Regions from separate parts of the Homo sapiens genome. Here all the other regions are linked to region 1. The links are contacts of gene promoters, found by promoter capture Hi-C in blood cells and fetal thymus (Javierre and others, 2016). All regions are on one chromosome and are shown on one strand. The core of a region is centred on a gene start or on the middle of the fragment in contact, and the rest is flanking DNA. Distances in the headings are between cores, read along the strand shown. Region 1 holds the start of PITX1 (paired like homeodomain 1). Region 2 overlaps MACROH2A1 (macroH2A.1 histone). Region 3 has its middle 11 kb from the start of MACROH2A1.

What was found. The method cuts DNA at HindIII sites, captures the fragments that hold promoters and counts their contacts. A CHiCAGO score of 5 or more calls a contact.
Region 2: a contact is called between a fragment that was not itself captured here and the fragment with the promoter of PITX1 in region 1, in 1 of 17 cell types (endothelial precursors). The highest score is 5.9, in endothelial precursors.
Region 3: a fragment that was not itself captured here is called in contact with the fragment with the promoter of PITX1 in region 1 in 1 of 17 cell types (endothelial precursors); the score reaches 5.9 in endothelial precursors.

Annotation. Positions count from the first base shown.
Region 1 is chr5:135,032,218-135,036,722 of GRCh38, reverse strand. PITX1 (paired like homeodomain 1) reads left to right here and starts at 2,495. Exons shown (of 3, transcript NM_002653.5): 1 at 2,495-3,010. The coding sequence starts at 2,842. It overlaps PITX1-AS1 (PITX1 antisense RNA 1), which reads right to left and starts at 3,449. Exons shown (of 6, transcript NR_161235.1): 1 at 3,183-3,449. RefSeq lists an enhancer at 2,979-3,611. The HindIII fragment of the contact is 7,456 bases long and covers 1-4,505 here.
Region 2 is chr5:135,336,755-135,340,830 of GRCh38, reverse strand. All of the region lies in intron 8 of MACROH2A1 (macroH2A.1 histone), which reads left to right. It overlaps PITX1-AS1 (PITX1 antisense RNA 1), which reads right to left. Exons shown (of 6, transcript NR_161235.1): 5 at 2,818-2,900. Among named protein-coding and RNA genes, the nearest start is that of MACROH2A1, 60 kb to the left of the region's middle. The HindIII fragment of the contact is 2,822 bases long and covers 434-3,255 here.
Region 3 is chr5:135,408,425-135,412,571 of GRCh38, reverse strand. No RefSeq gene overlaps it. Among named protein-coding and RNA genes, the nearest start is that of MACROH2A1, 11 kb to the right of the region's middle. The HindIII fragment of the contact is 1,722 bases long and covers 651-2,372 here.

The DNA.
Region 1 (4,505 bases), core at 1,246-3,745:
CAGTGAGGAAACACGCCCCTCAGACTAAGCAGTGAGTGCTGCTCACAGAATAGTCCCCATTGGGGGATGGCCCAAAGAGTCACTTTGGTCCCTCTGGGAAGTGAGAAGGCAAGTGAGAAGGCTGTGAGTCTTAACCTCCTCTAGAGGCCCACAGACAGACCATTCATTTCTAAGTCTCTACCCAGAGACGCACTGTGCTTCCCACCTTGGCCTGACATGTGGCAGGGTTAGAACACACCTCCTATCCCCTGCCAGCCCGCGTTCATGCCAAGTAGCACATATATGCCTAAACTCAGCACTTCCATAGTGCAGTGAATACATGTGTGTGTACAGCATCTCCGCATGGATGTACAGGATGTGTGTGTGTGTGCGTGCCCCCATGCTGTCTGCATTCAGGCTGTTCTTTTTGGTAAGACAGCTAAAAAAAGAATGGTCTGTGAAGGGACACTCCCTAGCACGCTGCAACACCTGAATATCTCCTTGAAAGGAGGGATCTTCTACTGCAGGAGACTCGTGGTAAAGGTGGCCAAGAAACATGGCAACGGTGGGGCTGAGGGCAAATGCTGGGCAACTGTGCTTCCCCATGTTCCCCTCCCCGTAGCCAAGACTCATTTCATGGAGGGAGATCTCAGCTTGGAAGAAGGCAGGAGTCACTGAGCCTCCCCAATCCAAACCCCTGAGAAGTGTCCTCCCTCTGGCCTCAGACCCTGCATCCTGTGGTCACAGACCCACAGTGAGAAAGGACCAGGCCCTAAGGAGCTGTGCTGTCTCTCCACGGCCCAGAGCGGGGGATGGGGATGGGGATGGGGATGGGGATGGGGATGGGGATGGGGGTAGGGGTGGGGGTGCTTTGGACTAACGTGGAGGGAATGGAAGGCAGGCCTGGTTCCACCCTGCATGCCCGACCCTGGCCCCAGCAGCCCCCACAAGGAGCTCAGCTGACCCTGGGTGTCTCCCTGTGATGGGAAGGGGTAAGACGAGGACTCAAAGGCAGAACCTGCAGAGTGCCCCAGACGCTGATACCTGCACAGTCAGTGCCACCCACCCAGGAGTTGAGGAGGCACTGGGTTTTGGGGTGAGGACACTGGACACCTCCCTGCTTCTTTCCCAGGCAGACAATCCTGGCGCAGCTCCCTTGGGTTGCTGTGTCTGGTGGAGCTGATCACAGGTGAGGGGCAGAGGGCAGTCTGGGGTCCGCCTATGGCCAGAGGAGCAGGTCAGGGCGGCGCCTTGCCGCCCCAGCTGTGGCCTGTTTGCTCAAGACGCTGAGGTCTCGGGGCCAGCTAACAATTGTTGAGCAAAATCCTTCGACAAACTTCACCTACGTGCAAGGACTCGAGGAGGGAATCACTCTTAGGAGTGGGAGAGTAATGTCTTTGCCTGTGCCCAGTGAAGGCCCATTGGAGCTGCAGCTCAGCTACCACTGTGTGGGAGAGAAGCTGGAAGACTGAGGGCTTCCTGGGCTGCTGGCCCAGGGTTGGGAGACAGCAGTCACCTGGCTTACCAGGCCTATGCCTGAAGCCCTGGGAAGCCAGGACGCAGGCCCCAGGCTGGGACAAAGCTACCCTGAAGGAGGGCAAAGGCTGCCAAGGCCAACCCCATGCCTGCCAAGGCCAGGCCTGGCCCATTTGGCCAAGGCCTAAGGTGTAAAACAAGGGGAGAGGTACAAGAGGCTGTGGGGTCTGGCTGGGATCCTTGGGGTCTTCCTTCTGCATTCTCCAAACGCCTAGAGCCAGCAGAAACGTTTCGTCTGATTAGAAGCCATCATTTCTATCCCAATCCCGGAAAATTGACTGCGGTGCAGAGAGGGAGGCCTGAGAAGCAGCCGTAGGGGAGAAGGTCCAAGCTAATTAGGAGGCAGCATCCGGGGGCCCATTAGAGCGCAGGCTGCTGTCACTCAGCCGGGCTGAGTTCCCGGGAGAAGAGGCTGGAGAAGGAGGGGCAGGCGGCCCCTCGACGAGGACACCGCTGGGAGCTGCCGGAACGGGCCCCGGGCTCTGCCCCCGCCCCGGCGCTGGCTCGAAGGCGCCCGCTCGGTGCGATCCTGTTCGGCAAACATTCACTCATCCTGGGCTGTTCTCGCCAGGGCTGGGGACTTCGAGGCGGCCGAGACGGGAGTTGATTCTAGGCGAAACAAGTCATTTGAGGCCTGAGGTGTGCACGAGCCGCCCGGGACTCGCAGGCCAGATGCGTTTCTTTTGTGAGGCCGAGGGAGAACTCGGTGTGTCACCGGGGAAGGAGGGAGAGGCGCGGCGAGGCCGCGGGGGGCGGGGAGGCGGCGGGAAGGTGGCTGCGGAGGGGGAGGGCGCGGGCGAGGCAGGGAGGGAGGGAGGGCGGCAGTGAGGGCGCGGCGGCGCGGGCGGCTTGGGGCTGGATTCCGCCCGCGCTCCCTCGCTCGCTCGCTCCCTCCCCAGCCCCCTCCCACCCAGGCCCACCCCACCCAGCACCCCTGGCGCAGGGACTGCTGGAACCTGGCTGTGCGCGCTGTCGCTTTAAGACAGACTCTGCCGGCGCCGTCCGGAGCCTTAGAAACCGGCCCCGGATCGCGAGCCGGAGCCGGAGCCGGAGCCGGGGCCGGCCGGGCTGCTGAGGCCCGAGCGGCAGGAGCGCAGCGCGGAGCGCTGAGCCAGGCGCCCAGTCGCGAGAAGCTGCCGCCGCCTCTGCCCGCCCGGCGCCGCAGCCCCGGGCGGTCCATGGGGCGGGCACGGCGTCGCTGCAGGCGCCGGCAGCCCTGGAGGGCAGCCGCTTAGGCGCTGCGCTCTTGTCCCCGCAGGTCGCAGCCAGGGCGGCGGGGCGCGCCCAGCCCCGGCCCCTGGAGCGCCCGCCGCGGTCCCCACCTCCATGGACGCCTTCAAGGGGGGCATGAGCCTGGAGCGGCTGCCGGAGGGGCTCCGGCCGCCGCCGCCGCCACCCCATGACATGGGGCCCGCCTTCCACCTGGCCCGGCCCGCCGACCCCCGCGAGCCGCTCGAGAACTCCGCCAGCGAGTCGTCTGACACGGAGCTGCCAGGTAAGCGCCGTTCCCCGCGCGGCGCGCACAGAGCCTACCCGGGCGCGGAGCACGGGGAGCTGGGAGCAGGGCCTGACGCCCGCGCCGCGCAACCAAGCTCCCTCTCCGCCCCAGAAGCGTCAGGAGCTTTCTTTTTCCCGTTCTCGACCTGACGGTGAACGCGGAAACTTACGCACACGCGAAGGCACTTCCACGCGGTCCCCACGCGCCAAGAGACTGGCAGATGCACGAGCCTACAGCTGGAGGGTTGGACTGACAGCCCCTCTTGATCAGGAGTAAATAGAACGGGAAAGAATTTGATTTGCGCAACTGGGCGCTAAGGAGCGGCTCGGACGAAGGGAGAGGAGGAGACCGAGAAAGGAAGAGGGGTGACGGGCGAGAGAACGCACTCAGAGAGACAGAGAGGGAGGTTAACACCGTGACAGTAGGCGACAGAATGAAAGAGACCAAAGAGAAGGGGCGGGCGGGAAGGGTAAACGGGGGGAGAGGGGTCATCAAGTAGAAGGGAGACACAGAGGACGGTGAGGGCGAGCGGGCCAACAGGCGCGGCCGGACTCCCAGCAAGGCCAGCCGGAACGCCGATCAAGGGATCCGGCCCACGTGCGCGGCCGAAGCCCGGAGCAGCCCGGCTCTGGCCCCCGCCCCGGCTCCTGCGCGTCTCCCTCCGCGCTGCCTTTTTTTGTCCGAGCTGGAGCTTTTTTCCAGCAGCGAACTGGGCCCGCGGGTGGCCGGCGCGGGCAGTGGGGCAGCGAATCCGCTGCCCAGCGCAGCCGGCCGGGTTCCGGAGGGGCTCCGAGCTCCCCGGTGTGGGCGCCTCTTCTGCGTTCATTTCTTAATACACAGCTGAATGTTTCTCTCCACTTTCTTAGTATCTGTTTCTCTTTTGCATCCCTAAGTGATTTTTCTGAGAGGTTGTTTGCTTGGTTAAAACATAATCAACGCTGAACTCTACTTTTGTTTTCAAAAGTTTTAAGCGCGGTCTTTGGTTGGTTTTATTTTTAAAACCTAGAGAGATATATAATCGTATATTGATTTTTTTGAACCAAATCTATGAGGATGAATTAATTTTAACTGTATCTTTCGATTCTGAAAGAATTAACGTACGAAGTGTAGGTCTGGAATTTAAAATATCTACATGCAACATTATTCTTCCGGAGATTTTAAAAAGTCAATCCAAAATGGCGCGTTTCTCCGGAATTTTCTCAAAATCCATTTACAGTGGTGTTATTTGGGGAATTTAAATTATCTAACTATAATGTGTTTCTCTGGGATTTAAAAATTATCTCTACAAGGGCCTTATTGGGAAGGAGTTAAAAATCTATCTACAACGGTACATTATTTTTTTAAATCCCAGAGAAATAAATGCTTCTGTCAACCTGGAGTTTATACACTTACAGCTCTGTATTTAGTTAGGGGTGTGTTTGTACGGAGCTTTCTGGCTTCTTAATTTACATTTGCTCTGTGTTTCTTCCTGTCTGATTTTGAGAATTTGTGG
Region 2 (4,076 bases), core at 595-3,094, 300 kb before region 1:
CATGAGTAAAAAAAAATGGGATTACACCAGAGCCGGCCAGTAAATCACAGTGGGTTTTAGGAGGGGAAATAAAACAGCTTGTTTGTTGCATCCAGTGTCTCTGGCACGGAAGTAATGTTGGAATTAAAACAGTATAAAGGTAAGCATGTTGGGAAAGAGCCATTGGTAAAGGATCACTCTCTTAGCTGAGGCCCAGTGGCACAGCCTACATGGATGGAAGATGACCATAACCACACCTGTGTGATGGCTCCCTCCAGCCTGTGAGGCCCTGGCATCTGGACATCCTGTCCTCAGCCATTCTGGTCACGATATTTATGGATACCCCCACTCCCTCAGCTCTGTTTCACATTAGGGGTGACCCCTCTCCAGAGGGGTAGTACATAGGGAATACTAGTTTGGGGCTTTGATTAAACTTTCCTTAGATTTATAAGCTTAAAAGGAAAAGCTGGTTTATTTTTTTCAAGCTACTATTTATGGGTATGTGTTGAGCCCCAGGCGCGGTGCTAAACCCTTTATCTGCATTATCTCACAGCAACCCTACAAGGTGAACAGCATTATTCCTTTCAAGGGCAAAGAAACTGAAGCATAGAGGGGTTAAGTAAATCATCTGAGGTCACTCAACTTGTACTTGGTAGAGTGAGAATTTGATCAGAAGCCCTTCGCTTCAGAGCTGTTAGGCTCATGGAACCCCTGCCTCCCATCTCCATTGGTCAGCCAGACCCCAGGTCCCACCACCTCATCCCACCATAGGACTGCCCCCTGCCTGCGTACTCTCTGTGCATAAAACACTACCTGGGAACTCCCTGACCTGCCCAAGTATAGCCATCAGCCTCTTTCCCCTCCTAAGCATTGGCCTCAGAGGTGAGATAAAAGGACAGAAACTCAAGAGACCTTTGAATGGGGGAGAATTTTTCATTTACCCAAAGCCCGGGGGCCTGGAGTGGGAGGCCACTTTGGGGCTGCCCCATCCCCTCTCTAGCTGCAGGGGGCACAGCTCAGGGGAGTGGTGGCCCCATCACCATCGCTTCTGAATGTTCTCCCTCCTGTATACCATTGCTCTCGGCTCAGGATCCTGATGACTTGGATCAAAGTGGCCTGTGGCTGGGGCAACTTCAACCTGGCAATTACTAAAAAATGGTAAAGGCCTAAGAGCAGCCCACAGCACAGTGCGAGGGGGACCTAATCTTAGCAGAAGAATGTCTATACCCTAAGTGACAGACAAAGAATACCAGAATCCACCTCTACTCCTCCCCAGCCGTCAATTGCAAGCTCGCAATCTGTCTGCTCCAGAAAAATCTCCCTGGACTCCCAGGATACAGCCTCTCCTGCTGTGACTCTCTGAGGTCCCTAATGAGCTCCTAGCCTGGATTTGCTGCATACCTGCCTGGCCCCAGCCCTGGAAGGTGAGCTCACTGAGAGCAGGGGTGCTTAGTGAAGTCCCACTCAAGGAGAGGGCTGAGAAGAGCTGGGATGTGGTCCTTGGTGCACCTAGAGTCCCTGCGTGTCCAGACAGGACCGTGGGACAAGCATCCAATGCGTACACCCCCCAGCCATTACTGAGGAGGCTGACCCAAGAGGGCATCTTGCACTGGCCCTGGGAAACTGAGGTCCAGGACTCTTGGGAAAGGCAAAGGGCATTACAGACACAACTGGAGTGAATTTAGGGAAAGCTCAGATGTCTCTTTAGTCTGCTTAAGGTCCTAGCCCTATGGTGTAGGAAACTCTTGACTCCAGAGGAACTTAAGGAACATGCCATAAACACAACCCACAGGCCAGGTCAGGGGCTGAAGAGAGAGTGGAAACAACAAACAGTGCACGCATCTCCCAGGTGGGGCTGATGGTGGCCGCAGTACTGGCAGCCTCATCATCACCACCATTGTCATCACTGCACAGACCCCTGAAACACCTAATTTCTAGTGGAGGAAATTAATGCTTAGAGAGGTTAACACCCTGGCCCAAAGCAGCTGGGATTCAAACCCAATTCTGACTCTAGAGTGGAAGCCCTTAGTCCCTCTTGCTCTGCAACATCTGATCTGAAAGATAGGCAGCACAGCTGTAGGACAGAGTGGCTGGCACAGAGGCCAGGCCAGGCAGGAATGGCTATTCAGAGGGGCCGTGGTTATGCAAGTAGCAAGTGAACCCAGCTGAGAAGCCAAAGATGCAACACCAGTGGGCATGACTGCTCCTGAAAGCAGTCAGTACTGCACTGGGGAGCCTCTATGTAGCCCCTGCTGCTGCATGCCCACGGTCACGGCCAGCAGCTCTCTGGGGTCTGAGGCCAACATTGTTAGCACCGTGTAACTGCAACGACAACAGCAGTTACCCAGTCACAGCTATCCCAGGGACGAGGGTGGAAGGGGCAGTTTTCTACTGCATGAGCCTTTTAAAAGACCCTTCAAAGCCACCTACTTTATAGACAGCTCCTCTTAACTGAAGACTCTCTGTGCCATGCCCCGGTGCTTTGCATTTTCTTGTCCCAGACTCTGATTCCATTTCACAGGATGGGGAAACAAGGCACCGAAGTGGGACCACAACTCAAATCCTGTGTGACTCCGGGAAATCCTGAGCTCTTAACCACTCTGCTTCTCTACCCTGGAGGGAGTAGGGCTGTCAGGCCACCCAAGCCTCAGAGGCAGACCTGGGTCTGACCTGCCTCAGCTGCTGCATGTGCCACCGCTGCCTCTGTCTGGAGGCTGCAGGGCTGTGTGTGGAGTGCTCTTGCAGGGCATCCACCTACACATTCCATTTTGCTACAAGCATTCTAACTGGCAGCAAGACATTTTGAGGCCCACCAGAAAACGTTAGGAAAGCCGTTACCTCCGCCATTCCTTCCTGGCAGCCTGCGCAGTCCAGAGCAGCCACAGTCCCATAGCAGGGTTTCTTCCTTAGGCTGTAGCTTCCTAGGACAGAGGGATGGATTTGTCAACAAAGGGTTGTCCTGGAAACAAATCCAGATTCATGTTCACCCACCAACAACCCTGAAATGCTTGCAAGGCCAGGGACATTCCGGTGGAACCGTCTGCTCTCTATTAACGGGACGGTAGGCAGGTGTGGGCACTGCAAGTCTAAAACATTTGATACTGACCTCTCTCCCCCACTTGCAGATCCTCAACATCTGGGTCCACCCTGCCAGCTTGGATTATAAAGTCCATGCTGGCTATTTGTAGAACAGCAGTTCTCAAAAGCTGCTAGACCTGCTGAATCAAACTGTTGTGTTTTGACAAGCTCTCCAGAATTCTGATGCAGGCTAAAGCTTGAGAACTATTGATGTAGAGGAATAGAAAAGAATATTTCCTCACTGAAAGTCACATACTCTTTTGTAAGGGTCCAAGGCAGAGGCAAGGAAAGCCTCAGGAGGGGTCTGTGTCAGAAAGCACTGGTCACAGGCAGGAGTGACTGGCACACTTTTGGTGTGTTCCAGGGAGACCCCTTGGGACCTCCCAGTCAGCATGGCATGGCATGGGCATGGGCCAGGCTACACTGTGTCTGCATCATACCACATCTCACCCAGCTTGTGTGGGATGTAGCTAACCGTTGTTGGAGACAGCTGCCTGGGCATGCAGCCCGGCTGCAGCTACAGAAGCCCTGCCCCAGGGCTAGCTCAGCTAGGCAGAACATCGGGCCACCTGACAACTGCTGTTTGCAGTAGCTCCACAGGCCCTCAGCCCAGCCCAGCTCCCTGTGCACGTGTGAGGCTGAGACAGGCAAGAGGGCACCTCACTGTAGGGACCTTGGAGCTGGCAGAGCATGGTCTTGGGATTCACATGCAAAATGCAACTTCTCACAGCTCCTCTCAGCACCCTGCAGCCCCCGTTGATCCAGGTCACATCCACAGACTGGGCTCTGCCTGCTCCAGAAGCCCTTGGCCCCTAAGTACAGGCTGCAACAGGACCGAGGATCCCAGCCCACAGTTAGAAGCAGCCTGAGCTGCTGGAAAGATGCCCCCCAAAAATGGAAGATTGAGTTTTTATCTCCTCAAGCAATTCTCAACGTGGCTCATTCCAGATAACCTGTCCTCTGTGCTCCTTGACTCCTGTGAATATAGTCAGGGCAGCTCTGCCTGGTGTGGGCCAAGA
Region 3 (4,147 bases), core at 262-2,761, 380 kb before region 1:
AAACTGACAGAACCCAGTATATAATTAATAATATGATTTCAGTATATATAAAACCAAAACTGACAGAACCCAGTGTAAAATACGGTTTCAATATATATTAAAGCAAAACTGACAGAACCCAAAGAGAAATAGACAAGCCTACAGTCACAATGGAAGACTTTAACACACTATTCTCAAAACCTGATAGAATAACTAGACCAAAAAAGTCAGTATGGACATTCAAAGTTTGAAAAACACAATTTAAAAAAGCTAGAGCTAATTGACATATATAAATCATTGCAGCCAACAATGATAGAATTTACATTATTTTCAAGTGCACATAAAATTTGTGACAAAATAGGTCCATGAGTTGAAGCAAAAAGAGGCTCAACAATATTCCAGTGTTTACAAGCATCCATAGTATAATCTCTGAGTACAACTAAATTAAGCTAGAAGTAAATAGCAAAATCCACAGGTCTAAAAATCAAACATGTACTTCAAAAATAATATATAGTTTAAAGAAGAAATTACAGCTGAACGAGAAAATATTATGAACTTAATAATAATGAAGATGCTATGTATCAAAACTTATAGAATACAACAAAATCAGATAAAAATTTATAATTCTAACTACATATATTAGAAAGTAAAAAAGATCAATTACCTAAGCTTGTATCTTAATAAGATGTAAAAAGAACAGTGTGTTAAATCCAATGAAAGTAGAAAGAAGGAAAGAGGAGCTGAAATTTAATTAAGTAGAAAAACTTTAATAGAGAAATTAAATAAAGCCAAAAGTAGGTTCTTTGAAAAACTGATAAACCCTTAGAAATATCAATTGAGACAAAAGAGAGAAATCCCAGGTTATCAGTACCAGTAACAACAAGGAAGACAGCACTACAAATGCTGTATTAAAAGGGTAAGAGAGTATCTGAACAATTTTACTTCAAGCCAGAGAGCCCTCAACAGAAATTGAATAAGCCGACATCTTGATCTTGCATTTCCCAGTCTCCAGAAGTGTGAGAAATAAATTTCTGTTGTTTAAGCCACCTAGTTTATGTTTTGTTATGATGGTCCAGGCAAACTAAGACAAGTAGAGAGTCCAGAAACAAATCCACTGTCACTTGATCAATGACACTACGGTGCAACGGGGAAAGTATAATTATTCATTAACTGGTGCTGGAAAAATTAGATAAAATGATATCTTATATCATATTTTTGTATTCCAGATGGATTGCAAAGTGTGAAAGATACGTTTTTCTGCTTTCTTTTTAGAAGTGTTTTTATTTTTTAATTGAGCTATAACTTATATACAGTAAAGTACACAAGTCTTAAAAAATTGATGACAGTTTTCATATACCCAACAAGATCCTTCATGATCCCTTCCAGTTACACCCAAAAAAATCACTATTATGACTGTCAAAATAAGTAAGTTTTGCCTATTTTTTTCACTGAGATCTAGAGGGTCTCTGTTCTCTTACCCTTGAAAGACTGTGGGAAATTCATTTCAGCTCTTTGAAAGTGTTGAGTTTAATTTTGTATCCTCATGCTCCATACAACTGCAAAATCTGACAAATGTCGTGAAGCCTTTTTAGACTGGGTGGGTTTTTGAGACAGGATCTCTTCCTCTAGCAGGACTTTGTCTCTTGAGCACCAAACTACAGGAAATTGTATTTTGCCTGTTAGAAACACTCTGCCGGACTTCTCAGCCTCCTACACACAAGCCTCAGAACTTATCAAGTGTTCTATGGGAAATGCAAACATGTCTGGGGGCTCTGCAAGTCTCCAATCTGTCATATGAATCCTGTGCAGCCACCAAAAGCCTTGCTGGGTTCTATTCCTTCCATACAGTCTCTCTGCATGAGTTAGATCCAAACTTCAGTCTGAGCCTATAATCGGAAAAGGCCCCTAGGGAAGGAAGCTGCTAGTAATCATCAGTTCACCCCCTCTGCAATTTAAATTCATATTGTACTTGTTGCTTCCAGAGCCCTTTGATGCCTTTTTTTAAAGTACACAACTTTTTACACAGTAAAAATGTCACAGTGAAATGTTGTCACAGTAAGAATGTTGGGTTGCCATGACCTACTCATCTTACTCAAAGGTTGATGACTGATAGAGGGTAGGCAAAGATTTCTTAAACAGCACACAAAATGTGTTAATCATAAAAAAAACCTAATAAATTGGATGGACTACATTAAATCTAGAAATTTCTATTTATCAAAAAACAATTAACTGATAAAAGAACCAAAGAATGCCTAAATAAATGGGGAGATATACTGTGTCCATGGATCAGAAGACCCAACATAGTAAAGATGTCCATTTCTCCAAAACTGATCTATAGGTTTAATGAAATTTCTATCAAAATCCCAAGGGTTTTTTGCAGATATAGACAAGCTTATTTTAATATATAGAAACTCATAGGTTCTAAAATAGCTAAGACAATCTTGACAAAAAAAGAACAAAGCAGAAGTAACCACTCTCCTGGTATTAAGGCCTAATACATAGCTCCAGTAATGAAGACATGGACTGATATTGGCAGAGGGACAGACACATGGGCCATTGGAACAGAATAGAGAACTCAGAAATAGACCCACAGCAATATGCCTAACTCATTTTTTTTTTAATTGATCATTCTTGGGTGTTTCTCGCAGAGGGGGATTTGGCAGGGTCATAGGACAATAGTGGAGGGAAGGTCAGCAGATAAACAAGTGAACAAAGGTCTCTGGTTTTCCTAGGCAGAGGACCCTGCGGCCTTCCGCAGTGTTTGTGTCCCTGGGTACTTGAGATTAGGGAGTGGTGATGACTCTCAACGAGCATGCTGCCTTCAAGCATCTGTTTAACAAAGCACATCCTGCACTGCCCTTAATCCATTTAACCCTGAGCGGACACAGCACATGTTTCAGAGAGCACAGGGTTGGGGGTAAGGTCATAGATAACAGCATCCCAAGGCAGAAGAATTTTTCTTAATACAGAACAAAATGGAGTCTCCTATGTCTACTTCTTTCTACACAGACACAGCAACAATCTGATTTCTCTATCTTTTCCCCACATTTCCCCCTTTTCTATTCGACAAAACTGCCATCGTCATCATGGCCCGTTCTCAATGAGCTGTTGGGTACACCTCCCAGACGGGGTGGCGGCCGGGCAGAGGGGCTCCTCACTTCCCAGAAGGGGCGGCCGGGCAGAGGCGCCCCCCACCTCCCTCCCGGACGGGGCGGCTGGCCGGGCGGGGGCTGCCCACCGCCTCCCTCCTGGACGGGGCAGCTGCCGGGTGGAGACGCTCCTCACTTCCTACACGGGGCGGCTGCCGGGCGGAGGGGCTCCTCACTTCTCAGACGGGGCGGCCGGGCAGAGGCGCTCCTCACATCCCAGACGGGGCGGCGGGGCAGAGGCGCTCCCCACATCTCAGACGATGGGCGGCCGGGCAGAGATGCTCCTCACTTCCTAGATGGGAAGGCGGCCGGGAAGAGGTGCTCCTCACTTCCTAGATGGGATGGCGGCCGGGCACTTTCCAGACTGGGTAGCCAGGCAGAGGGGCTCCTCACGTCCAAGACGATGGGCGGCCAGGCAGAGACGCTCCTCACTTCCCAGACGGGGTGGCGGCCGGGCAGAGGCTGCAATCTCTGCACTTTGGGAGGCCAAGGTAGGCTGCTGGGAGGTGGAGGTTGTAGCGAGCCGAGATCACGCCACTGCACTCCAGCCTGGGCAACATTGAGCACTGAGTGAACGAGACTCCGTCCGCAATACCGGCACCTCGGGAGGCCGTGGCTGGCAGATCACTCGCGGTTAGGAGCTGGAGACCAGCCCGGCCAACACAGCGAAACCCCGTCTCCACCAAAAAAATACGAAAACCAGTCAGGTGTGGCGGCGCGCGCCTGCAATCGCAGGCACTCGGCAGGCTGAGGCAGGAGAATCAGGCAGGGAGGTTGCAGTGAGCGGAGATGGCAGCAGTACAGTCCAGCTTCGGCTCGGCATCAGAGGGAGACCGTGGAAAGAGAGGGAGAGGGAGACCGTGGGGAGAGGGAGAGGCAGAGGCAGAGGCAGACCGTGGGGAGAGGGAGAGGCAGAGGCAGGGAGAGGGAGAGGGAGAGGGAGAGGGACGCCTAACTCATTTTTGACAAAGGTGCAAAACCAATGCAATGGAGGAAGGACAGCCTTTTTTGCAAACGGT